Regions from separate parts of the Homo sapiens genome. Here region 1 is linked to region 2. The links are contacts of gene promoters, found by promoter capture Hi-C in blood cells and fetal thymus (Javierre and others, 2016). All regions are on one chromosome and are shown on one strand. Each heading gives the region's core, a stretch centred on a gene start or on the middle of the fragment in contact. The rest is flanking DNA. Distances are from core to core; before and after follow the strand shown. Region 1 has its middle 45 kb from the start of MIR4444-1. Region 2 holds the start of IFT70B (intraflagellar transport 70B).

The links. The method cuts DNA at HindIII sites, captures the fragments that hold promoters and counts their contacts. A CHiCAGO score of 5 or more calls a contact.
Region 1: a fragment that was not itself captured here is called in contact with the fragment with the promoter of IFT70B in region 2 in 1 of 17 cell types (total B cells); the score reaches 5.3 in total B cells.

Annotation. Positions count from the first base shown.
Region 1 is chr2:177,166,084-177,169,544 of GRCh38, reverse strand. No RefSeq gene overlaps it. Among named protein-coding and RNA genes, the nearest start is that of MIR4444-1, 45 kb to the left of the region's middle. RefSeq lists enhancers at 1-45, 930-1,224, 2,226-2,744. The HindIII fragment of the contact is 3,119 bases long and covers 484-3,461 here.
Region 2 is chr2:177,551,370-177,554,617 of GRCh38, reverse strand. It overlaps IFT70B (intraflagellar transport 70B), which reads left to right and starts at 1,822. Exons shown (of 1, transcript NM_152517.3): 1 at 1,822-3,248. The coding sequence starts at 1,855. RefSeq lists enhancers at 1,556-1,845, 1,214-2,017, 2,018-2,822. The HindIII fragment of the contact is 6,507 bases long and covers 1-2,990 here.

The DNA of each region.
Region 1 (3,461 bases), core at 794-3,293, 390 kb after region 2:
AATGACTACAAAGAGTCCATTTCAAATCTTGTTGAAGGTCATAATGAAGATGGTTGTCTTATAATCTCTTACCAACGGAGGTGTTGGGGAAGAAAAAAATCCCCCTTCCAACAACTAAATTAGTTAGGGTGGCCTCAATCTCTCATCATCCACATTGATCAATATTCTCACTACTTCTTTATTTTTATGAAAAATGGGGAGGGACAGTGCAATCCTATCATCTCCACATTTATACAAGGAGTTCTTGAGAGTTAAGGCAGAATGCAGTCCTCCGGGTCCCTTTATGTGGTCAAATAACCCACAATTTTTGGCTGGCCTCACCCAGTCTTCGTTGATTCCCTTTCCCTTGCAACTATAGGTGCAGCCATGGGACCAAGTTCTGGCCAAAGGTTTCCAAGTGGAAGAGAGCTTCTGGGAGCCTTCCTTGACGTGCAGCACACCCTTTGCCTCTCCATGCCTTCCTGCTTCCTGCTGCTTAAAGCTTGAGTGCTGTAACCATGAAGCATGAGCATGCCAAGCACAGCTGAACAGCAAGACAGAGGACCTTGGGTCCCTCAAACCATGAATCACTGTATCAGTCCTAGCCCCACCACTCAGACTTTTGTGTGAGAAAGAAATTTAACCCGTGACTCAAAACAACAAGTTTATTCTATTTTTTTTTTTGAGATGGAGTCTCACTCTGCTGCCCAGGCTGGAGTGCAGTAGTGTGATCTCAGCTCACTGCAACCTCCTCCAAGTGATTCTCCTGCCTCAGCCTCCTGAGTAGCTGGGATTACAGGCACGCGCCACCACACCTGGCTAATTTTTGTATATTTAGTAGAGATGGGGTTTCATCATGTTGGTTAGGCCGGTCTCGAACTCCTGACCTTGTGATCTGCCTGCCTTGGACTCCCAAAGTGCTGGGATTACAGGCGTGAGCCACCATGCCCAGCGCAAGTTTATTCTTGATCACACCACATGTCCATTGCTGGTCAGCAGGGGGACTCTGCTCATTGTGGGTACTCAGAAAGCCAGGCTGACAGTGTCCATGTCAACCAATGCTTCCACCATTGCTGACAAAGACAAAAGGAATGTAGTGAATTGTATACTGATAAGGCTTGGAACTGAAAATAACACATGCCATTTTGCTGACTAATGCAAGTCACATACCATATCTAACTTCAAAAAGGTAGGCAAGTAGTCTATTTGCCCTAAAAGCAGGAGAACCAGAATGTGTGGATAATCCCAATAATGACTATAATTTCTATCTTACCTAAGCCACTGTTATTTTGGGTTTTCAGCCAATTGCATCTGCACTGAATCCTAATTAAGAGAGGAATGATCACATCAATGCTGTGATAACTATGTCCTGTGAGGAAGGCTGTCACTGGGTGTACACCTTATACTCGGAAGGATTTGCAGGGGTCACTCCCTGTGGCTTTTCTGAGAAAGAAGAAGCCACATCTTTCTTAAGATCCTCAGTCATCCTTCAGTCATTGACATCTACTACACTGCAGGCAAATCACTAAGAATTCCTATTCCTAAAGTTCAGGCTACCACCTCTAGCTCCTTCTAAGTCTACGAAATATTCCCTATTCTTTTGAAAACACAACTCTAGTCTTTTTCTATTCTGCTTTGTTCCGGCATTCAAATCTTAGTCCTTGAGATCTGTCATCTTTCCCAGAGGCTCTAAATATGTCCTTACCTCCTTCAATTTGGCAAATATCTTCACTCGACCCTATGACATTTTCCAAATCTATAGACAAATGAGTCGTTCTATACCTATTGTCTTTTTGTTTTCCTTTTCTGAAACCCCTGTGATGAGGCTTCTGTTTGTACCATTCTACTTAAACTGTCTAAAAAGCCATTAATGGCTTTTATCAAGAAGCGTTTGTCTAAAACTCTGGAATTTCCTGGAAACATGCTTTCGTATATTTCATATAGTGGGATGGATAACAGCAGATAAAAACAGTCATAGGTTTAGTAAAACATAGTAGAGCCCTTTCTGCATTTGGGTAGTATGGGAATGCCTTCTGATCTGCTACAGGTAAAATCATATGTCTGTCTGCTCCTGCCCTAAAACACAGGAGCCATCTGCAGTACAAGGCTGACATATTTATTTATTTTGCAACACACACATTCGATCTTTTTTTTTTTTTTTTTTTTTTTTGAGACGGAGTCTCGCTCTGTGGCCCAGGCTGGAGTGCAGTGGCGCCATCTCGGCTCACTGCAAGCTCCGCCTCCCGGGTTCACGCCGTTCTCCTGCCTCAGCCTCCGGAGTAGCTGGGACTACAGGCGCCCGCCACCACGCCGGGCTAATTTTTTTGTATTTTTAGTAGAGACGGGGTTTCACTGTGTTAGCCAGGATGGTCTCGATCTCCTGACCTCGTGATCCGCCCGCCTGTGCCTCCCAAAGTGCTGGGATTACAGGCATGAGCCACTGCGCCCGGCCACATTCGATCTTTAATCCAGTGTTTTAGTGGGTGTAGGTGTGACTTAGAAGCAGGCACAGTTCATTAAAAAACAAAAAACACCAAAACCTTTTACAGGTTATTCTCACAGATAAAAATTCTATAGGCTACCAACAGAGGAAGTCTTTATTGTTCCTGGGCGCTAGACCATACACAGAAGGACCATACTTGCTCTTTGCAGTCTCATTCAGAAGCAGGAAAAAGGGGCTGTATTGGATTTGAATATGAAGGACAAAAGAAGCTCTGGAAACACCAAGTAATAGTCTATGTTACAGGTTTAACACACCCATTTAATCTCATTGGAAAAAATAATGAAACTGGTGAAAAGCATTTATGGAACTGGAGGAGAGCATATTTTGCTGGTTTTACTTTTATGTTTGAAGTTTTGGGTATAGCTATGCCCATAAATACTGAAATGCCTAGCATAAAGAACGCAGCCTGGGGCATACCCCATAAAACGTACAGTGCAATTAAATGAGCAATTTCCACTGGAAATAAAACGGGCATGTTGAGTGGAATATGAATTAAACTGCATATGACTCAGGCCTGCACTAGGCTTTAGAGAGAGATCTGCTGGTTTCAGTAGCACCTGATGCCGTCCATCTAAAGGTCAAGGCCAGTAAGTAACAAAAGAAAACTGTAGTTAGCATGAAGATTAGGGCATACCAAATTGTGGTTAATGTAGTTTCCCTGTCATGATGTCTCCTGAAAGGGACCAGCAAAATTACGACTGATAACAAAGGATTAAACCTGACCTTTCTTTACAATGCAGACACATTGAGCTTCTGCGTCATTTGCTATGCAGCATTTTTGACTTCCTCAAACTTCATTTTCACTTTCTGAATGTTCTCTCCCAGACCAAAGTCACCCAGGTGCCATAATAAAAGAATTTCTAAGGGAGATTTCAACTAGAAAACCAAAAGGCCATCAAAACAAACATTGATTTGCATTCCAGATCACTTTCTGCTCTTGTTCATTTCTGGGATCTTATTTGGAGATTAAAGGGTAATG
Region 2 (3,248 bases), core at 573-3,072:
AGCTGCTTCTTATCTAGCTGTGTCATCTCAGGCAAGTTGCCTAATCTTTCTGATTCACATGTTCTTCATCAGTAATATGCAGAATACAGGGTGGTTATTATGATTAGAAATAATATATATAGGTGGTCTAATAGAATGTGATGCAATATGGTTGGTGTTGGCTCCAAAATTTATATGTAGAAAAGATTTATGAACAGCAATACTGTTGAAGAGGCAGTAAGGTACCTGCATTGAAGTATTTAATTATATAGCAAAGACATGCTCTGACTTGGACTGTTTATCATGGGTGGTAGTGAGGCCAATGGACATCATGGAAGACTACAAAAGACAATGCTCTGTCCCAGGCCACCATATGATAGATGTTAATGAATTACAACTATTATTGTTACCTTGAAAACTACACTATTTACAAGTACCTCACTGGGATAAGCCAAATTCATATTTTGCTATCTTGTCTATGTCCCTAATTCTTGATTGAAAAATTGTATTTATTCTCCCTTAAAGTCTATGGTCTCCAGGTCAGTTTATCTAGGGGTATTTTTTAAATTGGTGATTAAATATAATTTTATGGAATAATTAAGCCCCTAGTTTTTCACAGCCCCATCATGGCCACTAATAAACTGAAAAAAAATTATACAAAAATAGCCCCAGGATAATAACATGGAATCTACAGCATCTATTCCAAATATATAACAAAGAATGAAAGAAAACCCAGAATGATATCTTGTACAGTCTAGCAAACCTGCATAGAAATCTTCAAACTAAGAATCTGGAAAAAAAATTAAAGTGTAGGCAATCTTTTCTTATTTTAACAGAAGAAAATCCATATTTATCAGTTCAATATCCAAAATCCCTAGAAGGCTGAAAAGTACAAACTGAGCATGTGTGTCTCTCACACACCCACACATCACTGGCTGACTAATTTAGTAGTTAAGAGAGAAGAGTAAAAATGCATAGGGAAAGGAGCACATTTTAATGTCTTGGATTTTCCCCTCTTGGAAAAAACTGAAGTCATGCATTTCTCCAACGTTTCTACCTAGTAGTGAAAGTTGGAACTCCAGCGCAATGGGGATGGCCAAGGGTAAACGCCAATATATACTCAGTAATATTTGTTGTTACGGGAAAAAAGAGCGGGAGATACTTGGACCTAAAACCGAAACTCTCCCAGTACCAATCAAGATTCACAGTCCTTTTTCCTCATTAACCTCTGGAAACCACCAAATTAAGGATTCCTGCTCGCCGCTCTATTCCGTTCTTACAAACTGTGCCCTCGGGGTAGTGCAAAAAAGAACGTGCTCTAATTCCAGGGTAATTCCAAGAGATAACTCGCCTTTTGCCATCCCGGTTCTTTTACTGAAACTAAACCAAAAGCCAGCATTATTATCGACCACACCGTGTACCAGGCTCAAAATCGCCAGGAACATGGGGCCGGAAACCTTCCTCCGCCGCGCCAGAGACCACGGTGCCATAACAGACACAGTGAGCGCCCCTCATCTTTAAGAGGCAGGGAAGGAGAGTTACCCTGCACCCCCACGGGCCGCCGGTTCGGTAGGTACAGCCGGGACTACGTCTCCCAGCATGCAGCGCGGCTACGACCCGCGCCGCGGAACCACTGGAACGGTGCATGCCGGGACGAGTAGATTCAGTCTCTGAACGGCCCGGAGTAGTCTTTCCCCTCCTGAATGCCGCCACTCCGCAGTCCAGAGTATTTGAAGATCAAGCTGAAATTGAGAGACTGACGAGAGTGGTCCCTTTTTGTTCCTAACAGATTTCTTGCGACAAGGAAACCGGCAGTCTTCCGCTTCCGGTTGCTCTGTTGCCATAGTAACCGCACCCATAACAGCCGTGGTGGTTATGGCTGGCCTGAGCGGCGCGCAGATCCCCGACGGGGAGTTCACCGCGGTCGTGTACCGCCTCATCCGCAATGCACGCTACGCCGAGGCGGTGCAGCTGCTGGGCGGAGAACTGCAGCGGAGCCCTAGGAGCCGCGCCGGCCTGTCGCTGCTAGGCTACTGCTACTACCGCCTGCAGGAGTTCGCGCTGGCGGCCGAGTGCTATGAGCAGCTGGGCCAGCTGCACCCGGAACTGGAGCAGTACCGCCTGTACCAGGCCCAGGCCCTGTACAAGGCCTGCCTTTATGCGGAGGCCACCCGGGTCGCCTTCCTTCTCCTGGATAACCCCGCCTACCACAGCCGGGTCCTCCGCCTGCAAGCTGCTATCAAGTACAGCGAGGGCGATCTGCCAGGGTCCAGGAGCCTGGTAGAGCAGCTGCCGAGTAGGGAAGGGGGAGAGGAAAGTGGGGGCGAGAATGAGACCGATGGCCAGATCAACCTGGGTTGTTTGCTCTACAAGGAGGGACAGTATGAAGCTGCATGCTCCAAGTTTTTTGCCGCCCTGCAGGCCTCGGGCTACCAGCCTGACCTTTCCTACAACCTGGCTTTGGCCTATTACAGCAGCCGACAGTATGCTTCAGCACTGAAGCATATCGCTGAGATTATTGAGCGTGGCATCCGCCAGCACCCTGAGCTAGGTGTGGGCATGACCACTGAGGGCATTGATGTTCGCAGTGTTGGCAACACCTTAGTCCTCCATCAGACTGCTCTGGTGGAAGCCTTCAACCTTAAGGCAGCTATAGAATACCAACTGAGAAACTATGAGGCAGCTCAAGAAGCCCTCACTGACATGCCACCCAGGGCAGAGGAAGAGTTGGACCCTGTGACCCTACACAACCAGGCACTAATGAACATGGATGCCAGGCCTACAGAAGGGTTTGAAAAGCTACAGTTTTTGCTCCAACAGAATCCCTTTCCTCCAGAGACTTTTGGCAACCTGTTGCTGCTCTACTGTAAATATGAGTATTTTGACCTGGCAGCAGATGTCCTGGCAGAAAATGCCCATTTGATTTATAAGTTCCTCACACCCTATCTCTATGACTTCTTGGACGCTGTGATCACTTGCCAGACAGCTCCTGAAGAGGCTTTCATTAAGCTTGATGGGCTAGCAGGGATGCTGACTGAGGTCCTCCGGAAACTTACCATACAAGTACAGGAAGCAAGACACAATAGAGATGATGAAGCTATCAAAAAGGCAGTGAATGAATATGATGAAACCATGGAGAAATACATTCCTGTGTTGATGGCTCAGGCAAAAATCTACTGGAATCTTGAAAATTATCCAATGGTGGAAAAGATCTTCCGCAAATCTGTGGAATTCTGTAACGACCATGATGTGTGGAAGTTGAATGTGGC